Regions from separate parts of the Homo sapiens genome. Here regions 1 and 2 are each linked to region 3. Evidence: promoter capture Hi-C in 16 types of primary human blood cells and fetal thymus (Javierre and others, 2016). All regions are on one chromosome and are shown on one strand. Each heading gives the region's core, a stretch centred on a gene start or on the middle of the fragment in contact. The rest is flanking DNA. Distances are from core to core; before and after follow the strand shown. Region 1 has its middle 3.0 kb from the start of HACD3. Region 2 overlaps INTS14 (integrator complex subunit 14). Region 3 holds the start of RAB11A (RAB11A, member RAS oncogene family).

Evidence for each region. Contacts are between HindIII fragments. The CHiCAGO score rates a contact against its expected background, and 5 or more counts as called.
Region 1: a fragment that was not itself captured here is called in contact with the fragment with the promoter of RAB11A in region 3 in 2 of 17 cell types (fetal thymus and total CD8 T cells); the score reaches 10.0 in fetal thymus.
Region 2: a contact is called between a fragment that was not itself captured here and the fragment with the promoter of RAB11A in region 3, in 3 of 17 cell types (fetal thymus, endothelial precursors and total CD8 T cells). The highest score is 6.8, in fetal thymus.

What each region holds. Positions count from the first base shown.
Region 1 is chr15:65,525,504-65,529,512 of GRCh38, reverse strand. No RefSeq gene overlaps it. Among named protein-coding and RNA genes, the nearest start is that of HACD3, 3.0 kb to the left of the region's middle. RefSeq lists an enhancer at 226-726. The HindIII fragment of the contact is 4,122 bases long and covers 1-3,358 here.
Region 2 is chr15:65,579,839-65,583,732 of GRCh38, reverse strand. INTS14 (integrator complex subunit 14) reads left to right here. Exons shown (of 12, transcript NM_001394796.1): 11 at 1,714-1,779. Among named protein-coding and RNA genes, the nearest start is that of INTS14, 29 kb to the left of the region's middle. The HindIII fragment of the contact is 5,930 bases long and covers 1-3,894 here.
Region 3 is chr15:65,868,019-65,872,074 of GRCh38, reverse strand. It overlaps RAB11A (RAB11A, member RAS oncogene family), which reads right to left and starts at 2,584. Exons shown (of 5, transcript NM_004663.5): 1 at 2,450-2,584. The coding sequence starts at 2,489. TRQ-CTG1-4 (tRNA-Gln (anticodon CTG) 1-4) reads left to right here and starts at 2,942; the gene lies at 2,942-3,013. RefSeq lists an enhancer at 2,711-2,770. The HindIII fragment of the contact is 828 bases long and covers 1,907-2,734 here.

The DNA of each region.
Region 1 (4,009 bases), core at 48-2,547, 340 kb after region 3:
CTTAAATATCCATATTTTTGGTGGCTATTCTATTGGACAGTGCAGGAGACTGTCTCAAAAAAATAGGAAACTCAAACTAGAGACAACACTCATTTATGTCTTACTTAAGCTGTCTTGTCTGTATCGGGTTTCATCCCCAAGTTCTTCTGCAGAGAAGAATTTAATGGGAAGAAATATTTATATGAAAACTAGAACTCTGGGACAAAAATGGAACTCATATTCAATCCTGTTAGCTCCCATTTATTTAGCAAAGTGATTCTATTAGCACCCGTTTGTTTAGCAGAGGGATCTAACGCTGAAAACAAATTCTGCTAGCTCTCTGGAAACATTTAGCTCAAGAGTGGACAGAATAAAATATAGAGAGTTTTCATATAATGAATGTGCTGAGCTCACAAAGAGTTTATGATGATAGGAACTGAGGGCCGTGGGAACCATTGTCAGACATTTGAGAGCCAACCCTTGAGAACGGGATGGTGAAATGCGAGTAGGAATTTGACTGAGTAAGAACCAGGTAGGCCGTGGAAGCACAGGGCGCTTGCTTCGTTCACAGGTGAAAAGATGTGGACCAGGTGCAGCGTCTCACGCGTGTAATCCCAGCACTTTGGGAGGACGAGGCGGGAGGATCGCTGGAGCCCAGGAGTTTGAGACCAGCCTGGGAAAAATGGCAATACACTGTCTCTACAAAAAATACAACAGTTAGCAGGGCGTGGTTGGCGCGCCCCTGGGGTCCGAGCTACTCGGGAGGCTAGGGTGGGAGAATTGCTTAAGCCCAGGAGGCGAGATCGCGCCACTGCACTCCAGCTTGGGTGACAGTGTGAGGCCCTGTCTTAAAATTTAAAAAAGAGAGAGGGTTGTGGAAGGAGGTTCTGCTGCTAGGGATTAAAGGCATAGAGGAGAGAGGTCGCCCTGAATCTGGAAAGGCAGAGGGTGCATTAGGAAAGTCTTTGTTTGCTTCACTGAGGTGCCTATACTGTATCCCACAGACACATGGGAGCCAAGGAAGTTTGTTAACCTGGAGATTAGTAAAATCAAATGTGCTCAGCAAGAAAGACCTGTCAGAGAGGAGGAGGAATTGGTAGTAGGCAAAGCAATGGGAGACCAATGCAATCTGCCAAGAATGAGTTGATGAAAGCAGTGACGTTGACAGTCTTGAATTTTAACGATAAAATATTTTTTATGATAAAGGTATTTTATTGTATTGTGTTTACTACAATGCAGATGCAATATGGGGCACTTTTTAAAAACATTGAGATGTAGTTTACATATAGAACATGGGTAAATCTTAAATATTCAGTTTAAGCTGAATTTTTCTATATGTATATATCCATGTAATTATCACCTAGATCAAGATCTGGAATATTTCCAGTATCCCAGAGGTTATTTCATGTTAAAATATCTTTGCCTCTCAGTAATTACTATCCTGATATATCACCATAGAGTCTTTTTTGTCTGTTCTGTTCTTGAATTTTATATAAATGGAACCTACAGTGTCTGGTTTCTTTTTCTTTTTTCTTTTTTTTTTTTTTGAGACAGAGTCTTGCTCTGTCACCCAGGATGGAGTGCAGTGGTGCAGTCTCGGCTCACTGCAACCTCGGCCTCCCAATTCAAGCGATTCTCCTGCCTCAGCCTCCCAAGTAGCTGGGATTACAGCTGTCCGCCATCACGCCCAGCTAATTTTTGTATTTTTAGTAGAGACGGGGTTTCACCATGTTGGTCAGGATGGTCTCTAACTCCTGACCTCGTGATCTGCCTGCCTCAGCCTCCCAAAGTGCTGGGATTACAGGCATGAGCCACCGTGCCTGGCCCCTAATTTTTGTATTTTAGTAGATACGGGGTTTCACCATCTTGGCCAGGCTAGTCTTGAACTCCTGACCTCATGATCCACCCGCTTCAGCCTCCCAAAGTGCTGGGATTACAGATGTGAGCCACCGCACCGGGCCTTGGTTTCTTTCATCAACATAATGTGTATGAGATTTATCCATGTTGCTGAGTGAATCAGTAATTCATTCTTTTAGTTTTTGGTTTTGCTCTGTAGTAGTTGACTATATGAGTATACCACAAATTATTTATCCATTCTCCTATCGATGGATATTTGTGTTGTTTCTAGTTTTTAGCTATTACAAATAAAGCTGCTCTGAATATTTGTGTACCTGTCTTTTGGGGATAAATGCTCTTAATTATCTTGGAATAAATACCTATGAAGGGAATTGCTAGGTTACACAGGTGTATGATTAGCTTTAGTAGGTGTGCTAAGCAGTTTTACAAAGTGTTTTGGTCAATTTACATTCCACGGCAATGTTTGAAAGTTCTAGTTGCTCTATATCCCTAGTATTTTCAGACTTTTTAATTTAATTTTATTTTATTTTATTTTATTTTATTTTTTGAGAAAGAGTCTTGCTCTGTTGCCCAGGCTGGAGTGCATTGGCGCGATCTCAGCTCACTGCAACTTCTACCTCCGCAGTTCAAATGATTCTCCTACCTCAGCCTCCCAAGTAGCTGGGATTATAGGTGTGCACCACCACACCTGGCTAATTTTTTTATTTTTAGTAGAGATGGGGTTTCACCATGTTGGCCATGCTGGTCTCAAACTTCTAGGCTCAAATGGTCTCAAACTCCTGGGCTCAAGTGATCCTCCTGCTGCAGCCTCCCAGGCGTGAGCCACAGCACCCAGCCTAATTTTTTTTTTCCAGCACCACCCCCACCCCCAGCCAATGTTTTTAATTTTAGCCATCCTGGTAGGTGGGTAATAAAAAATAGAATAATTTTAATTCAGCGTATTTGAAACCTGAGGCTTATCAGCTGACTTCTACCAAGGTGAAAGCTATTGATATAGAAGAAGACTGAATGTTGGCATTTTGCCTCAGATGCTTCATAAGAAAGGTCCAGTGGAAGTGGGCCTATCCAGCCTGGTTTGACCACTAGTAACATACTGCAAAATGACTTCTTTAGGCCTGAGTTTCCACATTCATCAAATTAGGTAAATTTGATGAGTTGGATTTGGTTCCCTCTAATGCTCTTATCAGCTGTTTCTAAATTTTTCTGCAAAGAGACCCCACTATTATGGACCCCTCTCTGCAAGAGAAATCTAACAAGAAAAAAAATAGAAATGGAGAGAAGAAAGAGTATCATTCTGGTGAACTATAAAACTCCAGGGTGGGGCTGGACATGGTGGCTTATGCTGTAATCCCAATGCTTTGGGAGGCTGAGGTGGGAGGATCGCTTGAGTTTAAGAGTTCGAGACCAGCCTGGGCAAAACAGTGAGACCCCATCTCTATAAAAAATTTTAAAAATTAGCCAGGTACGGTGGCATGTGCCTGTAGTCCTAGCTACTAAGGAGGCTGGGAGGATCTCTTAAGCTTGGAAGGTCAGAGATGCAGTGAACTGTGATGGCACCGATGCACTCCAGCCTGGACAACAGAGCAAAACCTTGTCTCAAAAAAAAAAAAGCAAACCAAAATACGCTGGAAGGTGGCAGGGGAGATTAAAAGGCAGAGCCAAGTGGCAGTGCCAAGCTGAAATAGGTAGGGCTAAGAGTTTTATGATACTATCGGTCAAATGAAAATGCAAATTTAGCCTTGTCTTTTTGTCCTACCTTCTAGATGCAGCCTTCCCAGCCTCATTTGGCCAAGGGCCAGCTCTCCCTTCTCAGAGAATAGTCACCACTAACTACAGGAAGCATTTGCTGAGTACTTGCCATGGATTAAGCTCATTCCCAGGGCTGAAGGCTGATTTCCTGCCTTTGGCAAGGGGTCATACACATCCTTGTTGTTATCTATGTATAAAATCTTCTATTCTGGAAGAGGTTTTAGAAAATGAGCTGTAGAATTTGGCTGGATTCAAACCACCCAGGGTCACCCAGCCAGTTATCCCTGAGCAAAGTCAGGTTTCTCTAGATGGTACAAAGCTAAGTGTGGAGAGGGAGACTGACTGGATCAGTGCAGGTATCTAATGGGGAATCCTCCACAGCCAGATCATACACATGTAGCCTCCCAACTCTGCCTGGAGAATG
Region 2 (3,894 bases), core at 333-2,832, 290 kb after region 3:
TTGAATCTTCACTACTATCTTGGGTTTATTTTTCTTATTCTGGTAAAATATACATAAAATGTACCTTCAACCATTTTAAAGTACACAATTCAGTCCCATTTAGTACATTCACAATGTACCATCACCACTCTCTAGTTCCAGAACATTTTAATCACTCCAAAAGGAAACCCTGTGCCCATTAGGAAAGTCACTCCACATTCCTTCTTCCGGGCCCTGGCAACCATTGATTTTCTTTCTGTCTCTATGGACTTACCTATTCTAGATATTTCATGTAAACAGAATCATACAATTTGTGGCCTTTTGTGTTTGACTTCTTGTACTTAGCATGATGTTTTCAAGGTTTATTCATGTTGTAGTATGTATCAGTACTTCATTCCTTTTTATGGCTAATATTCCATATGTCTATATGTATATGTCACATTTTGATTATCCCTCAGTTGACGGACATTAGGGTTACCTTTTGGCTATTGTGGATAATGCTGTTACAAACATTCATGTATAAGTTTTGGTCTGAACATTTGTTTTCAATACTCTTGGGTATATATTTTAATGGGAATGGGATTGCTGGGTCAGACAGCAATTCTCTTTAACTTACTGAGGAATTGCCACACTCTCTCACAGCAGCCACACCATTTTACATTTCTGCTAGCAGTGTATAAGTGTTCTAGTTTCTCCACGTTCCTACCAATACTCATTGTTTTCCTTTTATTATTATTATCATATAGCTATCATAGTAGGTGTGAAGTGGTATGTCTTTGTTTTTGCATTTCCTTGATGACCAATAATGTGCATCTTTTCCTGTGCTTATTGGCCATTTGTGTATATTATTTGGAGAAGTATATACTCAAGTTCTTTGTCCATTTTTTAATTGGGTTTGTCTTTTTGTTGTTGGGTTTTTTATATATTCTGGATATTATGATCCTTAGCAGATACATGATTTGCAAATATCTTCTCCCATTTTGTGAGTTATCTTTTCACTCTCTTTATAGTGTCCTTTGATACACAAAGTTTTTGGTTTTGAAGAAGTCAAATTTTGTCTCTTGCTTTTGTTGTTTGTGCTTTGTGCTGTCTTAACTAAGAGATCATTGCCAAATCCAAAGTCATAAAGATTTACCCGCTGTGTTTTCTTTTTCTTCTTCTCTTTTTCTCTTGAGAAACACATCTCACTACGTTGCCCAGGCTGGTCTCAAACTTCTGGCCTCAAGCAATCCTCCTGAGTAGCTAGGATTACAGGGGCACACCACTGCACCTGGCCCGTTTTTTTCTAAGAGTTTTATAGTTTTAGCTTTTACATGTAGGTCTCTGATCCATTTTGAGTTAGTTTTTTGTATATGGTATGATGTAAGGGTCCAACTTTATTCTTTTGCTTGTGGATATCCAGTTGTCTCAGCACCAAATGTTGAAGAGACTATTTTTTCCCCATTGAATCGTCTTTGCAAAAAAGTCCCTGGCAATAGATGTATGGGTTTACTGGGTACATTTTTATGAGGCAAGTTCGTTTCTGTCAGGGGATTTATTTTACTGTCAAGCCTTTTGAAGGAGGGAGTGCTTTACTAATGTTGAACTGACATTAACTCAGAAGGGATCCTCATCTTGACATTGTAGCTGTGTTCTCATTTTCATCTCTTTAAACATTTAGATCCATTCTTTTATATTATTTCCCTTTTTTACCACAGAATTCTAATGTTGGATTTTTTTTTTTACCCTTAATAGACAGATGTACAGAAGATTTTAAGAAATGCAAGGAAACTACCTGAAAAAACACAGACATTCTATAAGGTGAGACAGACAGAAGAGGATGTGCCCAAAATATATGGTTCACGACAGTAAAACTGTGAGATGGCAGTGTGAATATGGGCAGGGGTTAGAGATGTATGACTTGTGCCTCAGTTTTTTCAAATAAACTCAGTAAAAGTGATAGGTCTGTTCCTTCCCTAAAATCCAAGAATTGGAAGAATTTAAATGGCCTAATTCTGTACAGGCAGAAGGTTTTTCTGTGTTGGGGCTGCTGTGAATGAATGACTGATGGAAGCAGCTTAGAGGACCTGTGGGTCATAGCCCTGAACTCTCCTCATCACTCCTATATGGGTATCCAGGCCAACCCCAGGCAACCAATGTATGTGGCTTCCTGGATGGGGAATTGCCCAGAACATTCTTTTTTTTTTTTTTTTTTTTTTTTTTTTTTGAGATGGAGTCACACTCTGTTGCCCAGGCTGGAGTGTCGTGGTGCAATCTTGGGTCACTGCAACCTCTGCCTCACAGGTTCAAGTGATTCTCCTGCCTCAGCCTCCTGAGTAGCTAGTACTACAGGCACGTGCCACCACGCCCAGCTAATTTTTGTTTTTTTGTTTTTGAGACAGAGTCTCACTCTGTCGGCCAGGCTGGAGTGCAGTAGCACGATCTCAGCTCACTGCAACCTCCGCCTCGCGGGCTCAAACAATTCTCCTGCCTCAGCCTCCCAAGTAGCTGGGATTACAGGTGTGTGCCACCATGCCCGGCTAATTTTTGTATTTTTAGTAGAGACGGGGTTTCACCATGTTGGCCAGGCTGGTCTTGAACTCCTGACCACAGGTAATCCGCTCGCCTCGGCCTCCCAAAGTGCTGGGATTACAGGCGTGAGCCACCGTTCCCGGCCTAATTTTTGTATTTTCAGTAGAGATGGGGTTTCGCTGTGTTGGCCAGGCTGGTCCCGAACTCCTGACCTCAGGTGATCCACCCAAAGTGCTGGGATTACAAGCGTGAGCCACCCCACCTGGCCACCCCAGAACATTTTTATTGCACCAGAGACTCTGCTTCTAGGAATGATATCTAACATTACACATTTATGAATTGCAGAGGAGATAGCCCTGCAGAATCATATGCAGCTAATCCAGAACGATTGGTGAAGAGACTGTTAAGTTACAGGGGGTGGGGTAGAGTGGGGAACATTTAGGTTTGCTCCTTGATTCTCCCCTATTGTTCTGGTGTTTGGCTGGAATTAAATTAAGTGCAGCATAAAGTATGTCATTTGTGTCTTAGCTTTCTAATTCTAAAATGTGGCACACACAGCCAGCCTTAGGCTAGCATCTTAACCAGAGAAGATACATGCTACTTTGTCTGGGTGTTATCTCATTACCTTTATGTCACTGTTGTCTTCAAACTTAATTATGTAGTAAGCTGGTGAAATAAAACAGCTTTAATCAAGAGTTCAACTGGAGAGCTTCTTAGCCAGCCAGGCCCCTCCCTAAACTGAAGCCCATAATCCACACAGTCCATCCTCCCTGCAGAGCTTCCTACAGTCATCAGCTATTTACTCATGATGACACACTTGTTTGGCCTTCTTCTTAACTTTCCACTTTTTTAACAGATGATAGTAGAAAGATGGTCAGAGAGCCCATTTCTCTTTTCTGGTTTTATATAATGCTACATATTAGAGCTCAAAAGGGCCTAGGGAAAGTGCTTCAGCCTCTGCAGTGGGTAAGGAAGGGGTTATTCTCCTCATTTTATAAATGAGGCCTTTGAGACCCAGAGAGGCTATATAACTTGCCCAGACCACTCCACTAAGGGGTTGTTGGGGCACTTCATATTTCTCTGCTTCTATCAGTAACCAGCCTTTCTTTTTGTTGGTCTTTCCACTCTGACTCCTCCAGGGCCTCCTCTTGAGCCTGTTTATTGTCTTAGCCTGAGGCCCCACCACAGTGGCATCAGAGGGTTAAGAGCGTTTTCAGATTGAGGGCAAGTCTTTTCCATACCTAAATAACAGGGGAAAAGTACTCCTCCTTAAAGTTAGGAGTAACGAAATGATGGATGCAAAGTGCTGACTACCACATGTGGCATAAATGCTCATTAACTGTGATGATGACGTTGTTTCATTCAGCTGTCTTCCTTAGCCTGCTTCTGGTCACCTGCAGAGGA
Region 3 (4,056 bases), core at 1,335-3,834:
GAGCTAGAGAGTAGCTAGGGAGGCTGAGGTCGGGGGGTCACCTGAGCCTGAGGAGGCCGAGACTGCAGTGAGCCTTGATTGTGCCACTGCACTCCAGCCTGGGGGACAGAGCGAGACCCTGTCTCCAAAAAAAAAAAAAAAAAAAAAAAAAAAAACTGACAAAACCACAGTAACTTCTTTCACATTATTACCATTTATTGAGTCCTCATGGTTAAAATTTTACGAACAGTCTCATTATTTAATTCTCACAATCTTAAGAGGCAGGTATTTTCCTTTTTATAAAGTAGAGAACTGAGACTCAGAAAAGTTAACTTTTCCAAGGTCATAAAGTAAATATAAGACCTGAGTCAGGATCTAAACCGAGGTCTACGTGATTCCAAAGCTCAGTGCTCTCAATTGTTGCTAGAAGGATGGTCTAATCAAAAAGTTAAAATACTTTAGGCCAATTCAGAATATTTAATATTCTTTGTTAAAAAATAAAAGGACCTTGTATAACCAACATTCAAGTTCAAACCAAACAGGAGAAATACCCTGACGGTCTATCTTGTTCTGAATTAATTACTTCAAAGACAACCTTTATAAAAGCACACTACCATTATACCATATTTCAAAACACAAACCTAACCTTTAACCCCAAAGTCTCAAGAGATTCAAATAGTTTCACATCATCTCAGATACCTTCGGCAAAAGGTATGCTGTCATATACTTTTTGTAATCCAGGCCTCAGTTTTGTATTTGTAAAATGAACTAAGTACCCTGAAAGTACTTTCCAGTATGGAGGGGGAGGGTGGATACCAAAAGTATTCACCCTATACAGTAGAATATTCTGAGTCAGAGGAGTAAGAGATGATAAGAGTATAACAGCAGACTAGTTAGTATAACAAGATTTGCAAAGTATTGGGAAAGCAAAGAAATCTTTCCTGCTTGGTTTAGTCAATCATTCTTAGCACCCAATGGCAAAGACAGAAACAGTCACCATGCTTAACACTCTTGAAACTCCACCCTCCACAGTAAAGCTTTAATAGCAATGGCTTCTTCCTCAGTGGTAATGATCTTTGTTCGGCACACTACTGATGGCTACCTTCCCAATTCAGGAGCAGAGAAAGAGCATCAGAGTGAGAGTGCATTCACTGAACAAAAAAAGCATCTACTGTACTCTCTTCTCATTGAAAAATGTACCCTTTATCTTCGTTGATTAAAAAAAAAAACCGGATTCCTTCCGGACTCAACCAATAAGCAATTCTTTCTAACCAACCCTGACCCTCCAATATGTTCTGTCCAAGGGCACTACATGTTTCCGTATCTTATAATAAATATTTAATGTAACCAAAAGAGCACACAACTTCCTCCCACCCCCAACCTTTTGGGAAAGGTATGTGGCTAACTAGGGCTCTTCCCTTCCTGTTGGATCCTCCCAGCGTTGCAGCAGGAAGCAACCAGTTCATAGAGATAAAGCAAGCTAGTATTTGTGCAGCGCACAACCTTTCCTGCTCAGGAACCAGGCCTTCAGGTCTGGCAAGGATAACAGCCACCACCCATCCGCAACCTCATCTCGCGAACCGAGTAAAGAGTTATCCCGGGTTGGGTGCCACTGAGTAGGGAGGGCAAGAAAAGAAAAGGCTAGGTGGGAAGTAATGTCAGCCTGCCGGGTCACTGCGACAAGTGCGCGAGTGGGTGATGGGCGATCCCTCTTACCCTCCCTCCCACCACCCAGGTCGCAACGGAGACAAGGGAGCTCTAAACACGATTTGGGGAGGGAAGGTAGAGAGAGTTGCCAAATGGGGAGTGGGAGAGGGAGCGGTCAGAGAAGGTTAAGGACCGCGAGAACCGCGGGGCGGAGGGTGGGGGCGGAGGCCCTTGGCCCGCTCAGATTTTACGGGGTCCTGGACCCGGGATGGGAGAAGCTTAGAGGGGCGGCCGTCCAAGTGGAGGGGAGATACAGAAGAGACGCTCGCTCGAGGGGGGAAAGAGGGCAGATAAGAAAAAGACCTGTAATGGGAGTCTGCACCGAAGGCAAGGCCAAGAGGGAAGCGAAGAACCCGTCAGAGGGGCTTCGGGAGAGGACGCGAGCTGGGAAGGGTGTACGCCGAGGGGGAGGGGGCGCTACACCCGAAAAGAGAGATGGTGGGAGGAGCGGCGGGGCCGTAGAACCCGGGGAAAGGAATTCGACGATGTGGGAGAAGGCAGTCCGCCAGGGGAAGGACACGCAGGGAGGGGCTCTGAGGCCAGCGAAGGCCTATGGAGAGGTCGCTCAGAGAGCGGCATGTGATGGGGACCCCTGTCTGAGCGGGGGAGAAGAGGCTGAGCTGGGTAGGAGACGGAACCGCACAAAAAGGAAGGGCTGAGGGAGGCCTATATCAGTGCAGGGGTGGCCGGCACGAGGGTCCACCGGGAGTGGCCCGGGTCCCCGAACGAGGACTGTGTAGAGTGCGAGAGCCCATGGCCTCACCTTTAAAGAGGTAGTCGTACTCGTCGTCGCGGGTGCCCATTGCGCGGCCGAGGAGCGAAAGGGCGGGAGCAGCAGTGGTATCTGTGGGACCAGGGGGCGTCGCTGCAGGGGTAACCCGAGCGCCGAGCTTCAACTGCCGGACTGGGTGAAGAGCCCCTCCCTGCCGCTGCGCCATTTCCGGCAGGCCCCAGCCTTTAAGGGGAAGTACTTCCGGGGGCGGCGCCCCGCCCCTGAGCCCAACAAGGGCGGTGTGCGCGAGAGTCGAGATGCGTGGGGCTTCAAGCTTTAGTCGCTAAAGGAGGCTCAAAGGGGAAACTGAGTCCTGGAACTCCTAGCTACCATAGTCTTAGTGGCCGCTTGCTCATTTCTCGAGCTACCGTGCCGGAAGCGGCTCGCTGGAACCAGGCGGGACCGCCTGTGAGTGGTGGGTTTGTGGATGGGGGCGGGGTTCTCTGAGGATTAGACAGCCGAAGGCAGCTACACATGCGTGGCGGTTCCATGGTGTAATGGTTAGCACTCTGGACTCTGAATCCAGCGATCCGAGTTCAAATCTCGGTGGAACCTGCATTGGTTTTTGTTTTTTTAATCTTGACAACATCTTTAATTCACTTTTTTGGTCACTAAGTAATTGAACAACTATGACACATCTTAAGATGGAGATGTAAAATTTAATCCTTGCCTATGAAGACCTCACAAATTTCCCACTGCATTTCAGGTGCTATCTGCTACCTGGCGGGGGGTTGTCTTAATGAGCTTCTTCACTGCCTTTTTTTTAACCCTGGGCTTTCAAGCCTTGATTCAAAAGCTTCAGTGAAACTTGAAAATTCCTTTTGCTGGAATTTTCTACCTCCAGCTTCATGCACGGGTAGGCGCTTGTCACTCACTCCTCTCCGGAAATCTCGCAATCTATCTCATTTTCATTTAGAGTACTTCGCCCACCCTCCTCATCAAGATTCATCAAGAACTTGAGTCCTATTTGTAGGCCTCTAATCTAAGTCCGTTTACATAAGTATTTCATTTAACATGCCAAGCAAAGGATGGTAATTTCCATTTTAGCGGAAGTTTGGATACTAAGACTCAAGTGATTTGCCAGATATCATGTCGCAGGGCCTCCCTGTATTTGAAGAGAATTTTGTCATTCCAGAAAAGCCTTTATCCAATTATTGTCACACCTCCTACCTCCTATATGCAAACTCTCGATTTAGACTTGTGGGCAAGTATGCCTATAACAAGCAGAATAATGCCCCCTGCCAATGATGTCCACTTCCCAATTCCTGGAGACTGAATAGGTTAGGTTACATGGCAAAGGGGAATTGAGGTTACAGATGAAATTAAGGTTGCTTATCAGCTGACATTAAATTAGGGATATTATCCTGGATTAGTTGGGTGGGCCCAGTGTTGTCATAAGGTCCTTAAAAGTAGAAAATGGGCTGGGCACGGTGGCTCAGGCCTTAATTCCAGCACTTTGGGAGGCCAAGGTGGGTGGATCACCTGAGGTCAAGAGTTCAAGACCAGCCTGGCCAACAAGGTGAAACCCTGTCGCTACTAAAATACAAAAAATTAGTCTGGCGTGGTGGTGGGTGCCTGTAGTCCCAGCTACTCTGGAG